3 separate regions of the Homo sapiens genome follow, and regions 1 and 3 are each linked to region 2. Evidence: promoter capture Hi-C in 16 types of primary human blood cells and fetal thymus (Javierre and others, 2016). All regions are on one chromosome and are shown on one strand. Each heading gives the region's core, a stretch centred on a gene start or on the middle of the fragment in contact. The rest is flanking DNA. Distances are from core to core; before and after follow the strand shown. Region 1 holds the start of USF2 (upstream transcription factor 2, c-fos interacting). Region 2 holds the start of SBSN (suprabasin). Region 3 holds the start of PRODH2 (proline dehydrogenase 2).

What was found. The method cuts DNA at HindIII sites, captures the fragments that hold promoters and counts their contacts. A CHiCAGO score of 5 or more calls a contact.
Region 1: a contact is called between the fragment with the promoter of USF2 here and the fragment with the promoter of SBSN in region 2, in 1 of 17 cell types (M1 macrophages). The highest score is 5.2, in M1 macrophages.
Region 3: the fragment with the promoter of PRODH2 here is called in contact with the fragment with the promoter of SBSN in region 2 in 6 of 17 cell types (M1 macrophages, M2 macrophages, erythroblasts and 3 more); the score reaches 9.3 in M1 macrophages.

What each region holds. Positions count from the first base shown.
Region 1 is chr19:35,266,281-35,270,336 of GRCh38, forward strand. It overlaps USF2 (upstream transcription factor 2, c-fos interacting), which reads left to right and starts at 2,682. Exons shown (of 10, transcript NM_003367.4): 1 at 2,682-2,883; 2 at 3,166-3,212; 3 at 3,301-3,419; 4 at 3,523-3,723. The coding sequence starts at 2,822. It overlaps LSR (lipolysis stimulated lipoprotein receptor), which reads left to right. Exons shown (of 10, transcript NM_205834.4): 6 at 79-252; 7 at 399-458; 8 at 556-687; 9 at 829-1,454; 10 at 1,544-1,684. The coding sequence ends at 1,579. RefSeq lists silencers at 1,463-1,542, 1,623-1,692, 1,793-1,942, 3,101-3,290, 3,431-3,750 and an enhancer at 4,038-4,056. The HindIII fragment of the contact is 13,161 bases long and covers 1-4,056 here.
Region 2 is chr19:35,526,171-35,530,865 of GRCh38, forward strand. SBSN (suprabasin) reads right to left here and starts at 2,141. Exons shown (of 4, transcript NM_001166034.2): 1 at 474-2,141. The coding sequence starts at 2,111. RefSeq lists enhancers at 845-1,346, 2,792-3,292. The HindIII fragment of the contact is 2,098 bases long and covers 1,768-3,865 here.
Region 3 is chr19:35,809,887-35,814,125 of GRCh38, forward strand. It overlaps PRODH2 (proline dehydrogenase 2), which reads right to left and starts at 2,959. Exons shown (of 10, transcript NM_021232.2): 1 at 2,746-2,959; 2 at 2,474-2,670; 3 at 2,248-2,386; 4 at 2,076-2,162. The coding sequence starts at 2,919. The HindIII fragment of the contact is 7,636 bases long and covers 1-4,239 here.

The sequences.
Region 1 (4,056 bases), core at 1,432-3,931, 260 kb before region 2:
TCCCTCCGGAACCCAATGGGTATGGGGCAGCCTGGCTCCTGCCTCATCCCCCTTCTCCTGTTGATTGTGTCCTCACAGTGTATGCCGCCGGCAAAGCAGCCACCTCAGGTGTTCCCAGCATTTATGCCCCCAGCACCTATGCCCACCTGTCTCCCGCCAAGACCCCACCCCCACCAGCTATGATTCCCATGGGCCCTGCCTACAACGGGTACCCTGGAGGATACCCTGGAGACGTTGACAGGAGTAGCTCAGGTGAGGCCGGGGGAAGCAGGAACAGCTGGTGGGAGTGTGCTGGGCATCTGGACACTGAGGGGCAGGGGCTGGAAGGAAGAGTGTCTTGGGAGCCGAGGAGGGGCTCTGCTCCTGGTGCGCGGCCACTGACAGCCACTCTCCCCCAGCTGGTGGCCAAGGCTCCTATGTACCCCTGCTTCGGGACACGGACAGCAGTGTGGCCTCTGGTGAGAATCCATCGTCCCGAAGTTGGATGTGCCTGTAAGGGAGAGGGGTGGGCCAGGATCCATCCTCCCAAACCGACCACCACCCCCCTGTCCCTAGAAGTCCGCAGTGGCTACAGGATTCAGGCCAGCCAGCAGGACGACTCCATGCGGGTCCTGTACTACATGGAGAAGGAGCTGGCCAACTTCGACCCTTCTCGACCTGGCCCCCCCAGTGGCCGTGTGGAGCGGGGTAAGCAGGAGCCTTGGGGTCTGAGGGCTTTTAAGGTGGGGGGGTGAAACATGTCTCCCTGATACCTGCCGCAGGGACTCTTGGTGCAAACCCTGGACCCCGGGCTCCTCCAGCAGTCAGTGACACCCCCCTTCCCTGCAGCCATGAGTGAAGTCACCTCCCTCCACGAGGACGACTGGCGATCTCGGCCTTCCCGGGGCCCTGCCCTCACCCCGATCCGGGATGAGGAGTGGGGTGGCCACTCCCCCCGGAGTCCCAGGGGATGGGACCAGGAGCCCGCCAGGGAGCAGGCAGGCGGGGGCTGGCGGGCCAGGCGGCCCCGGGCCCGCTCCGTGGACGCCCTGGACGACCTCACCCCGCCGAGCACCGCCGAGTCAGGGAGCAGGTCTCCCACGAGTAATGGTGGGAGAAGCCGGGCCTACATGCCCCCGCGGAGCCGCAGCCGGGACGACCTCTATGACCAAGACGACTCGAGGGACTTCCCACGCTCCCGGGACCCCCACTACGACGACTTCAGGTCTCGGGAGCGCCCTCCTGCCGACCCCAGGTCCCACCACCACCGTACCCGGGACCCTCGGGACAACGGCTCCAGGTCCGGGGACCTCCCCTATGATGGGCGGCTACTGGAGGAGGCTGTGAGGAAGAAGGGGTCGGAGGAGAGGAGGAGACCCCACAAGGAGGAGGAGGAAGAGGCCTACTACCCGCCCGCGCCGCCCCCGTACTCGGAGACCGACTCGCAGGCGTCCCGAGAGCGCAGGCTCAAGAAGGTGAGGGCCGCCCTCCCTGGCGTCCAGACCGTCCCTGGGCCCCCAGCCGGTCCCCGCGGCTCATACCCTTCTTTCTTTCTCCCTTGCAGAACTTGGCCCTGAGTCGGGAAAGTTTAGTCGTCTGATCTGACGTTTTCTACGTAGCTTTTGTATTTTTTTTTTTAATTTGAAGGAACACTGATGAAGCCCTGCCATACCCCTCCCGAGTCTAATAAAACGTATAATCACAAGCTCTGGAGAGAACCATTTGTTCGGCCGCGCGGGGCGGGGGACCGGGGCTGCTCCCGTATGCGTCTGTAAAGCGCCGCGTCCCGGGGGCACCGGAGTCCGGGGCCGGGAGGAAGAGACCCAGCCTGGCCCGGCCCGCGCCCGCGCCGCCGGCCGGAGAACGTGCCCCGCGCAGCCGCCGCCCGCCTGCGTGCGCGCCCCGGCCCCGCCCAGGCGTGCGCATGCGCCCCGGCCCTCCGCCTTCGCGCACCGCAGGCTGGCCGTCCGGGACGCGCGCGCGCTCCTCTCCCCTTCCAGCCCATCCCCCCCAGCCCCCCACCGACCTACTTTACTGTCTCCAAACTCGGGCAGCCCACCTGGCCCCCGACGACCCCAGCCCCTGCACCGGGTACCCCGACGTTCCATCCAGACCCGCGTTTCACCAGGGCGGCGCGCGGCGACCTCGCGCCCCGCGGAGCCCCGGGCTCGCGCGCGCCCGCCCGCCCCCGGAGACAGACCAGCGCGCGCGCCCCGGGCCGCCTCCCCCCAGCGCGCGTCCGCCCCGGGGCTCGCGCCGCCGCCGCCGCCGCCGCCGCGCGCGCGCAGCTCAAGTAAAGGAGGAAAAAAAAAAGGGGGAAAAATAGAAAGCGGCGGCGGCTGCAGCAGCGATCCGCCGCCGGACTGGGCCAAGCCGGGCGGCGGCCGCGCGAGCCGGCGATCCAGGGCACTGGCGGCGGCCAGCCAGGGCGGGCCGTGTTCAAAAAAAAAAGTCGCGGCGGCGGCGGCTGCTCAGGGAAGGAGGCCTGAGGGCCGCGTGCAGCGGGCGGGCAGCTGGGTGGGCTGGGGGCGGCCGCGCGGCGTCCCGGAGCCTCGGGCCGCCCGGAGCCGGCGGGCGGGCGGAGGCGGAGGCGGCGGCGGCTGCAGCGGCTGCAGGAGCGGCGGCGGCTGCGGCGGCGGCGGCGGCATCTCCTCCTCACATGACCCCACTGTTTGTCCCCGTGATCAGCGCGAGCGGCTCCCGTATCTCCTCCGTCCCCTCCTGCCGCGCGGCGTGAGCGCCGGGCTCGGGGCCCCCCCGGCCGCCCGCCCCCTCCCCTCCCTCCCTCCCCTCCCCTCCCCTCCCCCCCGGGCCCCGCGCCCCCCCCGCCCCCGCCCCCCCCATGGACATGCTGGACCCGGGTCTGGATCCCGCTGCCTCGGCCACCGCTGCTGCCGCCGCCAGGTAAGATCCCCGGCCCGGCCGTGCCCCCGCGCCCCGGCCCCGGCCCCGGCCCCGCGGCCTGCAGGCCGGGGCCGCCATGATCCCGAGCGGCCGCGGGCCCGGCTCAAAATGGAGGCCGCCGGCGCGGGGGGGACCTGGCGCCTCCCGCCCCCGGCCCCCGGCCTCGGCGGCGCCCCCGGCCTCAGGCGCGGCCGGGTGGGACTGGGGCCCTGCAGCTGGGCGCGGGGGCGGGGGCGCGGGCGCGGGCCGCGCTGACCCTGCTCCCTCCTGTGCCCCTGGCAGCCACGACAAGGGACCCGAGGCGGAGGAGGGCGTCGAGCTGCAGGAAGGTGAGTGCTTGCCGGGCCGGCCGCGCCCGGGGAGGGCTGGGGGCGCTCGGCGCGGCCCTGACCGTGCCCCGACCCTCCTCGGCCCCAGGCGGGGACGGCCCAGGAGCGGAGGAGCAGACAGCGGTGGCCATCACCAGCGTCCAGCAGGCGGCGTTCGGCGACCACAACATCCAGTACCAGTTCCGCACAGAGACAAATGGAGGACAGGTGAGCGGCGGGCCGCGAGGGCGAACGGGCGGGCGGGCGGGCGCGCCGGGAAGGCTCGGACCTGGCCCCAGCGCCGGCCTCGCCGCTCTGCCGCCCCCTGCAGGTGACATACCGCGTAGTCCAGGTGACTGATGGTCAGCTGGACGGCCAGGGCGACACAGCTGGCGCCGTCAGCGTCGTGTCCACCGCTGCCTTCGCGGGGGGGCAGCAGGCTGTGACCCAGGTGGGTGTGGACGGGGCAGCCCAGCGCCCGGGCCCCGCCGCTGCCTCTGTGCCCCCAGGTCCTGCAGCGCCCTTCCCGCTGGTAGGTGCCCTGCCACCCCTGGGTGGGGGGGGGAGGGAGTGGAGAGGGGACACTGGCTCTGCTCTTGGGGAGCCCCGGGGGTGGGGCAGGTGTCGCCCAGCGGATGCTGCCTTCAGGCCTCAGGCTGCATGGGGCCAGATCCCTGTTGTGCACCGTGAAACCTGGGGACAGTGCTCTTGGAATTTTTTTTTCCCGCAAAATGGGAATGATGTGTCTTAAGAGGAAAGTTTCTTAGAGTGCGAAACGGATTTGCTCAGCAAGTGATCGCTGACCTCCCGCCATGTTCCAGGGCTGTTTGAAACACAGGACAGAATGCTACACGCAGAAGGAGTC
Region 2 (4,695 bases), core at 891-3,390:
CATCTTGACCACATCAGAGGGTAGTTACAAAGATTACACAGGCCAAGGCTCATCTCCGAAAGCTATTCCTCATGCTCACTCTCCTAACCAGGTTTTGTCAACACTCAGTCCCTTTGCACTATACTAGATCTTGATCTCAGGAACTGTTTCCCATTCCCCAGGAAGGGCTTCATGGGCCCCACTTGAGGCCCCCTTAACCAGGAGGGCAGCTCCCTGAAGGTGGGACAGGGTGCCCGCCACCCTGTCTGATACGTGCTTTGCAGATAAGGTGGCTCACCCCATCTGACCAGCTGCCACCAGCTCCTTTGTAAGGGAGATGGGGAAGGGGGAGGAACCCAGTGATATAGCTGCCCAAGCTTCTTTCACCAAACAAAGGCTACGCGGACCCCCCCGCCCCGCCAAATGTCCCAGGGGTTTAACCTTTCCCTCCCCCAACCCCCCTGTCCCCCATCTCCCCATCCCTGTTCACCTACATTCAGCAGCTGGTTGGCCTCCTTGCTGGCTTGGTTGACCCCATTATGAGCATTCTGCAGCTCCTTCCCGGCCTGGCCAGCAGCATGGTGGGCACCTTGGCCAAGCTTCTCCACTTCCTTTCCAGCCTGGTCAGCAGCATGGTTGACCCCTTGGCCAAGTTTCTCTGCTTCCTTCCCAGCCTGGTGGACCCCAGTGTGGAACCCTTGGACCGCTTTGTCTGCTTCCTTCCCGGCCTGTTCAAGGGTATGGTGAACTCCCTGGCCAAACTGCCCTGCCTCCTTCCCGGCCTCGTGGACCCCAGGTTGGACACCATGAACTGCTATGTCTCCCTCTTTCCCAGCCTGCCCTGCTGTGTGGTGAATGTCGTGGCCAAACTGCCCCGCCTCCCTTCCAGCCTGACTAACGCCATGATGGAGGCCTTGGACCACTCTGTCTTCCTCCTTCCCCACCTGCGAGGCAGCATGGTGGACACCCTGGCCAAACTTCTCTGCTTCCTTCCAGGCCTCATTAACCCCATGGTGGACCCCATGGCCGAGCTTCTCTGTTTCCTTCCCAAACTGACTGGCAGCATGGTGGACCCCCTGGCCAAACTTCTCTGTCTCCTTCCAGCCCTCACTGAGACCATGGTGGACCCCCTGGCCAAACCTCCCAGCCTCATTTCCGGCCTGCCCCGCAGCATGGTGGGCCCCCTGGCCAAATCTCCCTGCCTCATTTCCGGCCTGCCCCGCAGCATGGTGGGCCCCCTGGCCAAACTTCTCTGCCTCCTTCCCAACCTGACCAGCAGTATGGTGGACCCCCTGGCCAAACTTCTCTGTCTCCTTCCAGCCCTCACTGAGACCATGGTGGACCCCCTGGCCAAATCTCCCTGCCTCATTTCCGGCCTGCCCCGCAGCATGGTGGGCCCCCTGGCCAAACTTCTCTGCCTCCTTCCCAACCTGACCGGCAGCATGGTGGATCCCCTGGCCAAACTTCTCTGTCTCCTTCCAGCCCTCACTGAGACCATGGTGGGCCCCCTGGCCAAATCTCCCAGCCTCATTTCCGGCCTGCCCTGCAGCATGGTGGACTCCCTGGCCAAACCTCCCAGCCTCATTTCCGGCCTGCCCTGCAGCATGGTGGACTCCCTGGCCAAACCTCCCAGCCTCATTTCCAGCCTGCCCTGCAGCATTGTCGACTCCCTGGCCAAACTTCCCTGCCTCACTTCCCGCCTGGTTGGCCCCGTGATGGACCCCATGATGGATCAGTTTGTCTGCCTCCTTCCCAACCTGTCCAGCAGCGTTGTTGACCCCATGGCCAAGCTTCTCTGCTTCCTTTCCTGCTTGTCCAATACCATGGTTGATCTCATGGGCAACCTTGTCCATGCCGTGGTTGAGCCCCTGGACGCCTTTGTCCAACTCCTTGCCGGTGTGGCTCCCCATGTTGCTAAGTCCGTTGAAAACCTTCTCCACTTCCCTTCCGGCATGCGTGATTCCACTGTTGATGCCATCCAGGGCCTTGCCCACCTCTCTCTCTGCATTGCTCAGCCCTCGGTTGATCCCTTCAATGACCTTCTCAATGGGGTCATCGCTGGCCGCCCATCCAGACAGGGCCCCCAGTAGCAGAAGGAGGGAGCAGGAGCCGACCAGACGTGCAAGATGCATATTGCTGGGAAGGTCGGGAAGGATGCAGAGAGGAGCCAGGGAAGCCACGCTGCTATTTATCCTCTCTCCCTCTCGCCCTCTTCTCCACCCCTCATGACTCAATTACCCCTGTGAGGCACTGAGTTGGTCTTCAGTCAAGGAGGTGTTTCCCAGGGAGATTTGGAGTTGAGCAATGGAGAGGAGGAGGAAGAGAGGGTGAGTCATGGATGGAGAAGAACTCTGGCATCTTTGCTCCTTGCCCTCCACCCCAGAGATGGGTGTCTGCCCTTCCAACCACCTCCTCTTTCATTCCTCACCCACTGTCCAGGCCTCCTCTCTCGCAAACCCACCTTCCACCATGCTCCATCCCTGGGATGCAGGCAATTCTTCAACACCTCACTCCTCTCAGGCATCTAAGCCTCCAGCTCCCCAGGCAGTGAGGGGCTAGAATGATGGGAGGCACCGTCTGGAGAGGGGAGAACACTAGGTGGGATGAAGGAGTCATCAGACCTCGTTCTTGTGGGCCAGCCCCTGCCCTCACTCATTCCATTCCAGCCACACAGGCCTTCTCCCTGTTCCACAAACACACCAAGCTCATTCCTGCTGCAGGGCCTTTGCACATGCTCCTCTCTCTGCCTGGAATGCAGAACCCAGATCTTCACGTGGCTGGCTCCTCCTCATCCGTACTTGACTTAAATGCCAACTTCGCAAGAAAACCTCTCCTGACCATAACATGGCATTAATTATACTCTGTAGTATCACCCTTTTGTTTTCACAGAAAAAAAAAATCTGAAATTACCTTTATTTTTTATTGCCTGTCTCACCTACTAGCAATGTAAATTGGTCGTGTTGATCACTGCTGTATTCCTAGCTTCTTGAACACTGCCTGGGGTTCAGTAAATATTTATTGACTGGACAAATGGATGGATTCGAACAGGCCAAGGAAAGAGACTCCGAGCCCGAGTCTGGGTCTCACAGGGTGCTGGAGGGAAGGGCGCCTGGGTCGCCAGGGCAGCATAGAGTCCCTTGTGGAGTGCCGCAGATTTTGGAGGCAGGATCCCATTCCTGTCGCAGAACCCAGACCTCCTGCCTCCCAGCCCTTGGGCAAGGGCAGGGGGCTGATTGCCACGAGCTGGAACAGGACGCAGTGTCTCCTGAAAAGCCGGTTGAGGCAGCCACGGGGAGGGGCCGAAGACCCAGGGCAGCAGGAGCCTGTGAGCCAGAACCTGGGCTGGGGCCAGGCCCTCATCCTTCCTGCCCTCCCGACATGGGGCCTCCTAAGCCCCAACCTGAAGCCCCAAGTGTTGACATATTGGCTCGGGTTGGAGGGGAAACAGCTGAGAGTCTGGCCTCAGGCATGAAAAGGGCATCGGAAGGAAGGGCAGGTGGTGGTGGGCAGGCTTGGGGCAGCAGATGCATCTAGAAGCCAGTTGGGAGGGAGGCTAAGACCAGAACGAGAGCCAGTGGGTGGGTACAGTAGGTGCAGGGGTGAAAGATATTTGGGTTTTGGTGCCAAGGGGAGAGACTGAGAGAGGGGTGGAGGTGGGATTGCTGGTGGGAAGGCCAGGCAGGAACAATGTGCAGGGTGTGAGCAGCTGGAGGTGGCAGAGCTATGTGTGTGGGTGCCCAGGTGTGGCGAGAATCTGCACGTGTTTTCAGGCTTTGCTCAAACAAAGGCGCCAAGGCCCACTCCCCTCAGAGGACCCGGGGTTCCTCTCCAGCTCCTGGACACTTGACTCCACCCAAAGACAGGCATCCCAGGACAGATATCCAGAAGCTTCTGCCTTCTCTGGGCTCTGCCTATAGAGGGTGACTAAGTGTGCCACCTCTCCAAGCTTGAGCTCATCAAATCTGTTTCCCGGTTTCACACTCCAGGGACAAAGCCAAATTCCTGGGCAAACTCAGGTGTGGTTTTTCTGCCCTGGTCCAGGGCCGAAATGATGGAGTTTCCCATACCAGGAGGTGGCTGGGCAGAGAAGAGTGGGTGATGAGTGTCAGAATCCTAACCCACCCAGAGATCAAGAGGTGGGATTTCTCCCACTTTGAACTGTGTTCCATCTTCTTTTTGTGTTTTTGGAGGGAGAGTCTCACTCTATCCCCCAGGCTGGCATGCAGTGGCATGATCTCGGCTCACTGCAACCTCCGCCTCCCGGGTTCAAGTGATTCTTCTGCCTCAGCCTCCCGAGTAGCTGGGATTAGCCGGGCACCTGCCATGATGCCCAGCTAATTTTTGTACTTTCAGTAGAGACGGGGTTTCACCATGTTGGCCAGGCTGGTCTCGAACCCCTGACCTCAGGTGATCCGCCCACCTCGGCCTCCCCAAGGGCAGGGATTACAGGCGTGAGCCACTGTGCCTGGCCTGAACTGTGTTCCATCTTCTCTATCCCTCTCCACCCCATCCTTTCATCTTCTGCCAGCCTCAGTCCCTCTCCTCTGTCTCTCTATTCCCATGTGGCACGATTCGATTCAGGACTTCAGCATCTGGCTCCATAACTGAGAATGGCCTGGAGTTGTCCTTTCTTTATTTTATTTATTTTTTTTATGAAGTATCACTCTGTTGCCCAGGTTGGAGTGCAGTGGCAATCTCGGCTCACTGCAACCTCCG
Region 3 (4,239 bases), core at 1,709-4,208, 280 kb after region 2:
AGGCGGAGGTTGCAGTGAGCCGAGATCGCACCACTGCACTCCAGCCTGGGCAACAGAGCCAGATGCCGCTTCAAAAAAAAAAAAAAAAAAAAAAAAAAACGCTGGGCGTGGTGGCTCACGCCTGTAATCCCAGCACTTTGGGAGGCTGAGGCGGGCGTTTCACCTGGGGTCAGGAGTTCAAGACCAGCCTGGCCAACATGGTGAAGCCTCATCCCTACTAAAAATACAAAAATTAGCCAGGTGTAATGGCAGGCGCTTGTAATCCCAGCTACTCGGGAGGCTGAAGCAGGAGAACCCGGGAGGCGGAGGTCGCAGTGAGCAGAGATTGCGCCACTGCACTCCAGCCTGGGCAACAGAGCAAGACTCTGTCTTAAAATAATAATAATAATAATAATAATAATAATAAATAAATAGATAAACAAATAAAAATTACAAATAAAAAAAGGTTAGAAAAAGAAACATCAGCATGTCCACTATAGCATTGTTTGGGAGGGTGGAGACACAGAGGCCACCCAGGGGTTCACCCCAGGAGAGGTAAACCATGCAGCAGCTAGAATCAACTATTGGAAACAGTGGGGGCCGGGCATGGTGGCTCAGCCCATAATCCCAACAATTTGGGAGGGTGAGGCAAGAAGAATTTTTTTTTTTTTTTTTGAGACGGAGTCTTACTCTGTCACCAGGCTGGAGTGCAGTGGCACGATCTCGGTTTACTGCAACCTCCGCCTCCCGGTTCAAGCGATTCTCCTGCCTCAGCCTCCCAAGTAACTGGGACTACAGGTGTGTGCCACCACGTCCAGATAATTTTTGTATTTCTAGTAGAGACGGAGTTTTACCATGTTGGCCAGGCTGGTCTTGAACTCCTGACCTCCAGTAATCCATCCGCCTCAGCCTCCCAAAGTGCTGGGATTACAGGCGTGAGCCACTGCCCCCGGCCATGTTCTAAATCTTGATAGGGATTTGGATTGCTCAAGTGTGTGTATTGGTTAAGGTTCATCAAAGGGCACATTTACAATGTGTGTAGTTCATTGTTTTACCTTGAAAGAAAAAAAGTACTGCGAATAATTATTGGGCTCTAATTAATGAGCCCATTATTCATATCCTGAAGCATTTAGGGGGAAAACATGTCTGCAATTTACTTTGAAATGCACCAAAAAATAAGATGGATTGATGGATGGATAGAGGAATAGAGGGATAGATATGATTTAAAGTGAGTATAGTTAAAGGTGGCGGGGGCATGGATGTTCATGTACAATTCTTTTTACTTTTCTGTATATTTGAAAATTTTTATAATAGAATATTGGGGAAAATATGCCCCCCACGAATGGTATACACCTGGCAAAACAAAATCATAGAAACAAAAAGATATGCATTATACAAGACGGCAGGCTGGGTGTGGTGGCTCACACCTATAATCCCAGAACTTTGGGGGGCTGAGGCTGGGGGATTGCTTGAGGCCATGAGTTAGAGACCACCCTGTGCAATACAGTAAGACAAAGAGAAAGAGAGAGAGAGAGAGAGAGGAGGGAGGAGAGAGAAGGAAGGAAGGAAGGAATAAAGGAAGGAAGGAAGGAAGGGAGGGAGGGAGGGAGGGGAGAGAAGGAAAAAGAAAAGAAGGAAGGAAGGAGAGAGAGCAAAAGAGGAAGAGGAAGGAAGGAGAGAGAGAGAAAGAAAGAAAAAAAGATGGAGTAGGGTTGAAAGAGAATGTGGAGATAAAAAGGAATTAATGATTGAATGAACAAACTAAGACCCCATTGGCCTAATCAGAACTTACACCCAGCCAGCTCACACCCATGCAGCTGTGTTGACTGAGAACACACTGATGTACCTCCTTCTAATTGATAAACAGCTTCTATCCCAATCCCTCCTCTGAGAGCCTCCAGCCTCCAGGCTCCTCCCTGAGAACCCAGATGACCCTGATTCCATCCATTTCAACCATGCCTGGGAGCTACAGCTGCACTTCTGCTGGCTGTTCCAAGCCTGGAGGTGGCCGTAGCATTTTGAACATCTGGCGTGCGGTGTGGCCGCATCTAAGTCCAAGGCACTCTGTCCCCGACAGTCCCGCTTGAGATCCTTACCTGCCCAGAGTCCATAGCTTCAGCCAGCCTCTCGGGGCTCAGCTCCAAGGAGGCTCCTGGCCTTCTGACCCACGAGGCTAGCTCCTTCTGAAATGGGGTGGTAGGCGGGGTGGTGAGGGGAGCCCGATGGGCAGCCGCGCCCTCCCCGCACCCCCGTCTTTGCACTCCTTACACAGAGCCGAGTACTGGTCAGCGCCGTCACCTTCAGCTGCATGAGGCTGGCCTCAGCCAGGCTGGGGGGCTCCAGGAGGCCCCGTGACAGGTCCACACACCGCAGCATAGCACCGAGGTTCCCCTCATACCACGCCTCACTGCCCAGCCAGCAGGTGTCAGGGCCCGAACAGCAAAGCCCCTTCCTGCGTCCTCCCAGCCTCCCTGGGCCCTGGCTCCCTACTCACCCACTCTTGGCAGCAGAGTCCGGCTCCTCCTCAGTGGGCACTGCCAGCAGTGGTCGGAGGCTGAGGGTCCGCAGCTGCTGCACGCAGCCCTTCACCTCCTCTGCTGTCTCACCAGCCACAAACTGCCCATAGACGGATGCTCGGAGAAATGCGCCTGAGAGCCGGGAGCCCAGGAGTCGCCGAGACCAGGCCTGGAGCTGGGTGACAGGGAGCGAGGGCTCAGCGCCAGGCTATGAGGAGCCTCCAGGCTGGTCCTCAGGATCACTGCTCACCAACAGCCCGTGAGTGACGAGTGGGGGCCAGGCACACAGCCGGAGAACCAGCAAGGCCCGTGTCAGCTCTCCTGTGCCCTTAAGGTGGAAGGCCCCGCCATCAAAGCTCAGGGACTGCCAGCCCCTGGAGGGGGGACCAGCTTGGGAACAGAGCACGTAACAGGTCCGGAGCATCCTGGGTCCCTGGCTGCCTCCACACCAGGGAAGGTTCTCTGGAGGCAGCAAGTTCACCAACTGCCCCTTGCCCAGACCAGGGGCAGTGACTGATTAACTGGGCAAAGCCTCAGGATCACAGGCTCCTTGGGGGCAATTAATTATTAACAAATGGGGACAGAGTTCAGAGTAACGGAAACGGGAGGTGAACCCCAGTAACAGCCCCCAAGAATGCTCAGCACAACAGCCTGCACTTATTAGGTAACCACCATGTGCTGGGGAAAGCAGGGGCTCCGGAGCAAGGATCCCTGGGCTCAGGACACCGGGCTTTGTGATCCAGGACAGGCTACTTAATCACTTTTGTGGCAATTGCTTCCTCTTAAAATTGGAAACGCTGTAGTGTTATTGAATACATTTGAAAATACGGTTCTCACGTTTGTAATCCCAACACTTTGGGAGGCCAAGACCGAGGAGTTTGAGACTACCCTGGGCGACATAGTGAGACCCCATCTCTACAAAAAATACAAAAATTAACTGTGTGTGGTGGCACACACCTGTGGTCCTAGCTACTCAGGAGGCCGAGGAAGGTGGATCTCTTGAGCCTGGGAGGTCAAGGGTGCAGTGAGCTGTGATTGTGCCACTGCACTCCACCCTGGGTGACAAAGTGAGACTCTGTCGCCAAAAAAAGAAAAAAGAAAAGACAAATAACCTATATAACCCAGCTGTTCCATGCTAAGTACATATCCTAGAGACCTTAAACATGGACAGCAGGAAACATGTACAGGAAAGAATGTTCAGAGGAGCAGTGTCTGAACTACCCAAATGTCCATCAAAAGGAGAATGGATACATATATGGTGGTGTAGTTATGCAATGGAATACTATACAGTAATGAAAAAGAATGGATACTGATACACACAACTGTGTGGCTGAATCTCACAATGTCAAGTGAAAGAAGCCAGACACCAAACAGGGCAAGCTGTATTATTCTTTTTTTTTTTTTTTTTTTTTTTTTTTTGAGACACAGTTTCACTCTTGTTGCCCAGGCTAGAGTGCAATGGCACAATCTCAGCTCACTGCAACCTTCACCCCCCGGGTTCAAGCGATTCTCTTGCCTCAGCTTCCAGAGTAGCTGGGATTACAGGCATGTGCCACCACGCCCCACTAATTTTGTATTTTTAGTAGAGACAGGGTTTCTCCATGTTGGTCAGACTGGTCTTGAACTCCCGACCTCAGGTGATCTGCCCGCCTCAGCCTTCCAAAGTGCTGGGATTACAGGCATGAGCCACTGTGGCTGGTCTATACTTTTCAATAAATATAAAAGCAAGGAAAGTGAAACTGCA